Linked DNA regions of Homo sapiens: region 2 is linked to region 1. The links are contacts of gene promoters, found by promoter capture Hi-C in human tissues and cell types (Jung and others, 2019). All regions are on one chromosome and are shown on one strand. Each heading gives the region's core, a stretch centred on a gene start or on the middle of the fragment in contact. The rest is flanking DNA. Distances are from core to core; before and after follow the strand shown. Region 1 holds the start of FAM78B (family with sequence similarity 78 member B). Region 2 overlaps MGST3 (microsomal glutathione S-transferase 3).

What was found. Contacts are between HindIII fragments. The study calls those that stand out against the background at their distance.
Region 2: a contact is called between a fragment that was not itself captured here and the fragment with the promoter of FAM78B in region 1, in 1 of the 25 tissues and cell types used here (pancreas).

What each region holds. Positions count from the first base shown.
Region 1 is chr1:166,163,674-166,168,252 of GRCh38, forward strand. FAM78B (family with sequence similarity 78 member B) reads right to left here and starts at 3,328. Exons shown (of 2, transcript NM_001017961.5): 1 at 2,313-3,328. The coding sequence starts at 2,575. LOC112268276 (a long non-coding RNA gene) reads left to right here and starts at 2,204. Exons shown (of 3, transcript XR_002958633.2): 1 at 2,204-2,381. RefSeq lists enhancers at 2,195-3,097, 2,269-2,438, 2,539-2,588 and silencers at 2,979-3,038, 3,079-3,568. The HindIII fragment of the contact is 7,560 bases long and covers 1-4,579 here.
Region 2 is chr1:165,641,556-165,646,199 of GRCh38, forward strand. The region is part of intron 1 of MGST3 (microsomal glutathione S-transferase 3); the gene reads left to right. Among named protein-coding and RNA genes, the nearest start is that of MGST3, 13 kb to the left of the region's middle. The HindIII fragment of the contact is 3,519 bases long and covers 1,632-4,644 here.

The sequences.
Region 1 (4,579 bases), core at 2,078-4,577:
TAAAAAGTTTACACTAGCAAAATTTTCCAGGCATAAATATCTTGTGGAAATTGGTTCATTCAAATTTGGGCTCCAAAGTGGCCTTTAACACATAGCAATTATTGCAACCATGAAGAAACAGGTAGACTGTGGACACAAATCTATAATAATATGCTTTATGATTTATTGGGGGTCTATTTTTGCTCTCCTACATCTACATGAAAACCAAGAATCTTAAAATATCAAAAGTGGCAGTTTAAAAACAAAACCACTTTCCAAATCCCAAATGCAAGGATTCAGTGGGGAAGGGTCAGGAATCCTGTCACTGATTCATATCCATTAAAGTTGGTTCCAGTGAGGACATACCTTCCCTATAGATTCCAGGAAGTTCAACTACCATGTCTGTTTATATCTCAACTTGACTTCTCCTAAGGTAAAGTAAGTTTTACGGAAATAATTCTGTATTTATATATTTGCTTTTACTTATTCATAAGAGATTTGAGGCAACAGAGAGTTCCGCTGTGCAGTCTTGGGAAAAGTGAGGCTGCTTCTGCACAGTCACTCCTGGCTTCCTCTACCAGGGGCCCCAGGCTGCTGTGGGGAGCACTTGCTGTCCTCCAGCAACCCACTGCCATCAGGGTGAGGCCAGGGAAATGAGAGGAAGGGCTCTTGCCCTGCCTGTGGCTTTCTCTGACTTGGCTGGAAACAATGGATTTATTTTAAAAAGCAGTTTTAAGAGACACATGTGTTCACATATAATCATTCTTTTGAGGGTATGTCAGTTTTTAAATGGCATGATTCGCCCCAAATAAAATATCCCCCATTTCTCACATCTAGCTGTCTTCTCTGGAAGAATACAGTGTGCTGAGGCATATTGGAAACTGGGCCTCACATTTCTTCACTAGGAATTGAGTTTTCTCAAGGATTAAGCTTTTGTGCTTAAAGAGAAAAGTGCAAAATCTTTGGGAGGAAAAAAGGAAAACAACGACCTGTCAAATTTCTTTTAGCGCCTATGACTAGTGTTAACTGACATGCTCTCAGAGTGCAATAAAAAGCCTGCAAACTGCTGCTAAAAAGATGGTTTGACCTTTTAAAATGGGAACTCCCCCACCCCATATCCATATTAAATAGACGAACCTTGGGAGCTCTAGAGTTTTAGATTAATAAGTGAAATGAGGTTGAATTTCCAGAAAAAGGGTTTCCCTGTAGGCTGCAGACTGGCTAATTAGGGTGTTCTAGACCTACATTGTAACAGCAGGTAGAAGGCAGGCCCTAAACCTTTTAGCTATTGTCGTTGCCACCTGCTCAGAGTCTAGTTCTGAAAGGAGGCGGGTGCGGAGTTATGAAAATTTGGTAAATATAAAAGTCCCGGACGCGACCGCCCGTAGCCTGCGGCCCCTGGCGGTTGAGGAGCCGCGGCGATCCTTGGTCTTCACCGCAGCAGCCAAGCCCGGCGCGCACCAACCGGCGCTGCTGAAAGTTGGAGAGCTCCCAGCTCGCCGATAGAATTCGGCGGTGGGCGCCAGGGGAATCCCTTCCAGTGCCGCAATTAGGAAAGTTTTAAAAAGTAAGGACCCTAGACAGACAAGAGATCCATCCTTTCCTTTAGCATAAGAAACACCCCGCGCCGCGCCAGCCGAACGCTGCTCGCACAAGGCTATCCGCCCTTCTTGGCCGGGACGCACTCGGTGCCTTCCAGCTCCCCACCAGAACTGGTCCAGGGGGCGCGGAAACAGAGAGGCAACTGTGTCCGGCTTGTGGTTCCAGACGGAAACGCCTCCGGGCTCCCTGGCCCGGGGGACAAGGGTTCGAAACTTCAACAGTCGCGAGGGCAAGGACAGAACTACCAACTCCCGCTCGGATGCCCGGGACCTGCTCTTCCAAGCCCGCTCCGGTTTCTCCAAAGGACGCGCGGCACAGCCCATGCGCCCCCGGCACTCCACTCCACTCCTCTATGGTTTCCCCCAAACTCTTCCCGGGGAGCCCCACAAAGCACAGACGGCGCCCTGAAACTCGCCAGGCACTCGCCAGCCATCCCCACCTCCGCCTCTCGAACCCTCCTTGTCGCGTTCTTCCCGCCCCGCACCTTTCTCCTCGCGTTTCTGGGAAGTCAGAAGCAAACCACGAGAAAATGCCTTCGCAAGGAGCCTCCCTACACCCGCCCTGTCACTGAAACAAAAGCGTAGGGAGGAGGGAGGTGGGAGAGGAGGCGGGAGGAAGGTTTAGAAAGACGATGGGGACAGCAGTAGGAAGGAGCTGGGGAGGGGGGTCAAGGTGGCAAGCAGAGCTGGGGGCCCAGAGTCCGCTCCCGTGCCGCGCGGCGAGTCGCTTACATGCCCAGGTCGCTGTAGGTGTTGAAGAACTCCATCTGATTGCACGCCTGAATCCAGCCCACCACCCAGGTCTCGTGGCGGGGGATGGGGGGCATGACCACGCGGGCGGAGGCTTTGAAGTAGGGGGTCTTGTAGCGCAGGACGATGGGCGAGGTCTCCTCGATGCGCGTGGGGCACTGGTCGATGGTGGCGCACACATCGTACACCACGATGTTCTCGCGCCGGATCCGCGCCTTGCAGGTGATGCTTTGGATACAGCCCATCCTGCAGCCCGGTGCCGGCACGGCGCGGCGTGGGGCAGCGCGGGGGCCCGCGCGGGCAGCCGGGGGCGCCCGTCACGCCGGCATGGCGACGCGCCGCTCGCTCCCGGTCAGACTCAGCTCGCACCTAGGAGCGGGGAGCCGCCGGGCATCCTTGGGGAAGCCCCCTCCTCTTGCAGCCGCGCGGGGTCCCCGCTGCCCCGACGTCCGCCCACGCCCGCCCCCTCGCTCCGGCAGGGCGCGCGGAGGGTGCACTCCTAGGAGGCGGCGGGTGCCCTCGCCGGCTCCAGCGCCCGGGCGGAGGGCAGGGAGGGGAGCGGCGCTGCGAGGAATGGTGCCCACCCCGGGCCGGAGCCCCCCGCCCCTCGCCGGAGAGGAGGAGGCGGCAGCGGCGGCGGCATGGAGCCGGGGGAGGGCGGCGGTGGCAGCGCCCGGTCTGTCTGCCTCCGCGGCGGCAGCAGCAGCAGCCGCCGCCGCCGCCGCCGCTGCATGAACCTCTGCACCACGGCTGCCCCCCGCGTGCAGCGCACCCAGCGGCGGGCGAGCGGGCGGCCCAAGAGGCAGGCGGAGGCAGCAGCGGCGGCGGCGGCGACCGGAGCTCCCGCCGGCCCCGCCCCGTAGCCGGACCACACCGACACTCCTCGGCCCGGCTGCCTCGGCCCGGGGGGCGCCAGGAGGCTGTGGCCCGGGGTGGAGAGCCCCAACGGCTGGAGCAGCACAGGACGTGCTCCGCGGAGGAAACTGGCTGTACGCCATGAGTTTTGTCCCTATTCGGCTGCCGTCCGGGTGGGGGGGGGGTAATGTGTAAGGGTGGGGGTGTTTAAAGGGCCGCTAGCGCCGGGGTGGGGCCCCGCACGTGGGGCTGAGGCGGGGCGGGGCCCTGGTAGGTGGTGCCCTGGGGTGGGGGTGGGGGACTAGGGCGGGCCCAAGCGCCACCGGGTGGGTGAGGCCGAGCAGGGCGCGGCGCTGTCCAGAGTCCAGTGGGGAACCCGGTAGCCCAGTAGGGGCTGTAGAGTGAGTGTTTCGGGCAGCAGAAGGGTTAGGGGAACAGCTTTATCAGAGATTGGTCGTTATTCAGAATATAGCTTGTTGGATTAGATTTAGGCTTGAGCCCTTTTAGTATCCTACCTTCAGAAAGGGTGAAGGGCGGGCTCCAGCAGCGTTACTAAATGCAGTGTATTTGCCTCTTTGCCTGACTGGGTTTGTTCTGGAAGCTCTTCTTTCCACCACTGTGTGTAGTGGGGATACCGGAAGAATCCCTCCGTACTCCAGCACTAAGTCTCTCATATGCCAGAGTTTTGGCAGACATTGGGCATTGTGTACAGTATGACCACGGTCATGTGTCTGATACTGCAGTCTAATGTGCCAAACAGGAAGAATATTTAGCAGATGCTTTTACTAGGCATCTTCTTACATTTTTATTTTCAAAGCCAATAGCTTCTAAGTATTTCTTCTGCGATCATTGAACATTTGCTGGATCTGCTGCCCAAGTGTGAAATACTGACTAACAGGCCGCAGGAGGTGCTAGAGTTAGTCTTTAGCTAGGACAGGTGTGACGAGTAATTTAAAAATTGATTGAGATCTAAAAGCACTCTTCATCCTTGTTTTAACTGTTCTGACACCTTGGTTCACTTTATAGTTAACAAAAAAGCAGTTTTTCCCTTTGATGACTCGTCTCTCTCATTTTACCGTGTAGCCACAGACCTCAATCACTGGTCCTTTCATTCAGCAAAGGCTGACTGCCTGCCTGGCAGGAGCCAAACATAGTGCTAGGTACTAGGGATTCAAAGTTGAAAAAGAGCACATGGATCACTGGAGAAAATAAACCTGTTAACAAGTTATTATAGTAAACTGTGACACCTGCTTTAGTGGGGTTGTGTATCCAGTGCCGTGGAAGGCCAGACATGTAAATCTCTGGCCACATGTAAATCCCTCAGTGGTCAGAGAGCCACTCAGTGGCTCTCTGGCCACTGAGAGATTTACGTGTGACTTTGCTCAAGTAGTGAC
Region 2 (4,644 bases), core at 2,141-4,640, 520 kb before region 1:
AGACATGTACAGTTACCAGTATTTATTTCTTCATATTTGGACCAACATTTATTGTTTATACCAGGTACATATCTAGTTTATCTAATTTAATTCTTCAAACCACACTGTGATATAAATGGGTAGTATTTTCCCTGTTTTGTAGAGAAATTAGATACATCCTAAAGCTTGCAGGGGCTATGTATGAATACAGGTCTGTCTGACTCCTCAATTCCTGCTATCTCTAGTCTTGTAGATTTCCCACAGGAAAAGATGAATCATAAAACAGTATTGAAGTCCACTAGGAGTAAAAACATTTAGGATCTCTACCCTTAAATAAGTGACAAAAACTTTCTAATTTAAAAAAATAGATAATTCAAATTTCTTTTAAACCTTTAATGTTCTCTTGACTGATCTATTTTGACTTAAGACTGCCAACAAACAGTTAACTAGGAGCAGCTACCTCTGCAATTGCTAATAAGGAAAGTAAGAATAGAAACTCTTTCATCCTATTTCTGTCTTTCCCTACCCATTTATTTTGTTTTTGTTTTATTGTGTTATACCTAGTTTGTGATTATTGCTAGGAAGGGAAAAATCTGGAATTGGGTACTTGTTTACTTATTTGCCTGTGTCCCCTGCTAGAAAATGAGTTTCATAAAGAACCAACCTCTGGCTGTTCCCTGTTCGTCTCCAGCACTAGCCCAGTGAGTGGCACATAGTGGGCACTCAGTAAGCCTGAATAAGTAAATGAATGCACGATCACCCTCATGCAGTGCTGAGCAGTGTCTGGCTGCAGCAAGAGTTTGAATGACTGCAGCTTCCGGATGTCCATAGTCAGTGCTAAAATCCTGCTTCCTTCTGGCTGCTTCTGCCTTTCACATGATAGCATATATTTTAACATGGCTGGCTGCTGAGAGTTCAGAAAAGGAAGAGGATATATGTGGTTCTAAACTTTGCTATTTTAAAATGGCAGTTATAAATTCTAAAATGTATATTCATTATCATTTAGCCAAACATCCCCGTTGAGTCAGGTCAAGGACAGTTAACCAAACATTAGCATATGTAACGTAACATAATATATAACATTTACTGAGTCCTTCCTATGTGTCAGGCATCATGATGAATGTTTATAGACAGTATGTCCATCTAATCCTCTCAACAACCTTCCAAGGTTATATTAGTATCTCCATTTAACAAGTGAGGAAACTGAGGTGCTGAAAGGTGTTAAGTAATATTCCCAAGGACACTCAACTAGGAAATATGAGAACCAGGTTCTGAATGCAGACAATTTGATTCCAAAACTGCATTCAACTGCAAAGCTGTCTCGTGAACTGCACTTAGCAGATAAGTGGTGGTACTCAAGCCAGAAGTCAGGTCTGATCTTTCGGTTCCATCATTCCATACTGCCTGTTCCTCTGTCTTCTCAATGAATAATGATTGTCAAGCCACTCTAAGTTTTTTTAGATATGTATTTGCTCATTTTGGAAATTACAGAAAATTACAAAGAAAAATCTATAATCTAGCCATCTAGAAATAACTATGCTTATGATTTTAATACTTTCTTAATTTTTTTCTATTATTAAGAAAACCAAGATTATTCTACATATACTTTTATTTTCTTTTTTCCCCACTCAACCTGCTGTATATTGAGCCTGTTTTAACCTCTTTAATATTTGTACACACCATTTTTAACAGTTGTATAATGTTCTATTTAACGGGTATATTATTTATTTAACTGGCCCTCTATTATTGGACATATGTAGTATTTCTGGTTTTGCCATCATAAATATTGCTGAAGTAAATATCTTTGAACCAAATTTGTTTGCATTTCTGATTGTTACCTCAGGATAGATTTCTAGTAGGATTAATGAGCCAAAGAATATTAATATTAAAAAGAATATTACTGGCCAGGTGCTGTGGCTCATGCTTGTATTCCCAGCATTTTGGGAGGCTGAGATGGGAGGATCACTAGAGCCCAGGAGTTCGAGACCAGCCTAAGAAACATAGGAAGATCCTATCTCTTAAAAAAAAAAAAAAGAAAAAATATACATAGGCTGGGCGTGATGGCTAACACCTGTAATCCCAGTACTTTGAGAGGCTGAGGCAGCCGTATCAGTTGAGGCCAGGAGTTTGAGACCAGCCTGGCCAACATGGCAAAACCCCCATCTCTACTAAAAAATAAAAAAATTAGCCGGGTGTTGTGGCGGGCGCCTGTGATCCCAGCTATTTGGGAGGATGAGGCATGAGAATTGATTGAATCTGGGAGGCAGAGGTTGCAGTTAGCTGAGATTGTGCCACTGCAGTCCAGCCTGGGCGACAGAGCGAGACTGTCTCAAAATAAATAAAATAAAATAAAAAAATTTTAAAAATACAGAAATTAGCTGGGCATGTCAATGTGTGCCTGCAGCCCCAGCTACTTGGGAGGCTGAGTTGGGAGGATCACCTGAGCCCAGAAGGTCAAGGCTGCAGTGAGCTGTGATAGCACCACCATACTCCAGCCTTGGCAACAGAGACCCTGTGTTAAAAAAAAAAAAAAAAAATTACCTATTGCCAGGCTGTCCTCTAGATGGTTCTATCTTATACTTCCCTCAACAGTGTAGAAGAGGGAAAACTAGGTACTTTTAACTACAGTTATGTGTTCACTCATGATGGAGATATGTTCTGAGAAATGTGTTAGGTGATTTTGTCATTGTGAGAATATCGTACAGTGTACTTACACAAACCTAGACAGTATAACCTACTACACACCCAGGCTATATAGTCTAGCCTATTGCTTCTAGGCTGCAAACATGTACAGCATGTTACTGTACTGAATACCATAGGCAATTGTAACATAGTGGTATGTATTTGTGTGTCTAAAGATATCTAAAAACTTAGAAAAGATCCAGTAACAATATGGTATAAAAGACAAAAAATGGTACACCTGTAGAAGGCACTTACCATGAATGGAGCCTGCAGGACTGGAAGTTGCTCTGGATGAGTCAGTGAGTGAGTGGTGAGTGTGAAGGCCTAGGGCATTTCTGTACACTGCTGCAGACCTTACGTACACTGTATACTTAGGCTACACTACATTCATTTTTTAATATTTTATCTTCAATAATAAGTTAAACTAGATTACTGAAGCTTTTTTACTATAATTTTTAAACTTTTGAATCTTTTGTGACAATACTTAGCTTAAAACACTAATACATTGTAACTGCATAAAAATTGTTTCTTTGTTTTTTGTTTTCTTTTGTTTTTTTCTTGAGACAGAGTCTTGCTGGGTCTCCCAGCCTGGAGTGCAGTGGTGCAATCTCGGCTCACTGCAACCTCCACCTCCCGGATTCAAGCAGTTCTCCTGCCTCAGCCTCCCGAGCAGCTGGGATTACAGGCACTCATCACCTCGCCCAGCTAATTTTTTTATATTTTTAGTAGAAACAGGGTTTCACCATGTTGGCCAGGCTGGTTTTGAACTCCTGACCTCAAGTGATCTGCTTGCCCTGGCGTCCCAAAGTGCTGGGATTACAGGTGTGAGCCACCATGCCCGGCCAAAAATTGTTTCTTCATATCCTTATTCTATAAGATTTTTTTTTCTATGTTTTAAATACTTTTTTTATTTTTAAAGAAGCAACACCATTCAGTTCAGAACACCCATACTGACTTTGAGCTGATGGCCTTTGTAGGTTTCTAACTGGAAGTGAAATTTTTTCTATTTTTAAAACTTTCTTTTTATTTCATAGTTACTTTTTAAGCTTTTTTTGTTAAAAATTAAGACACAAACACACACCTTATCCTAGGCCTATACAGGGTCAGGATCATCAGTATCCGTCTTCTGCCTCCACATCTTGCCCCAGTGGAAGGTCACATGGACACACCTGCCATGTGTGGAGCTGTCCTCTCCTATGGTAACAAGGCCTTCTGGAATACCTCAGGGAGGACCTGCTTGCACCTGTTTTACAGTTAACATTTTTTTTTAATAAGTAGAAGGAATACACTATAATGCTAAAAAGTATAGTATAGTAACTACATAAACCAGTAACTGTCACTTATGATCATTATCAAGTGTTATGTGCTGTACATAATTATACATGCTATACTTTTATATGACTGGCAGCGCAGTAGGTTTGTTTACACCAGCATCACCACAAACATGTGGATGATACAGTGTACTACGATGTTACAATGGCACAGTGGCTATGATGTCACTAAGCAATAGGAATGTTTCAGCTCCATTACAGTCTTATGGGGCCATTGTTAAATATGCAGTCCATCACTGAAACGCATGGCTGCATGTGGTAGAAGGTTTCAATTCATAAATATTAATTTATACTGCTGGTTTATGACTAACCCAGGAAACTGCATAATGATTAACAAATGCTACGATATAACCAAGTGAATTGCAAAGTCATCTACACCTGTATTAAAGTTCAGCTCAGAAAGGACTGTTTGGACTGTGTGTATCTAGCACTACGTAGAAGAGAAAGTCAAGGGCAAAGTTCCCACTCTCAAGAACTTTATCTTGTTGGGTTCATGAAAGGGTTTCTGGTGACACAGAGTAGGTATATAATCAGCAAAATGTGGTCTGCGGTTCAAATGAGTGCTCATGCCAGAGATTGGTTGGGTGCCAGCTATCAGTTCTTCCACCCTGTCCCTGGAAGCTATCTGCTACCTCTGGGGCTGGCACAACCC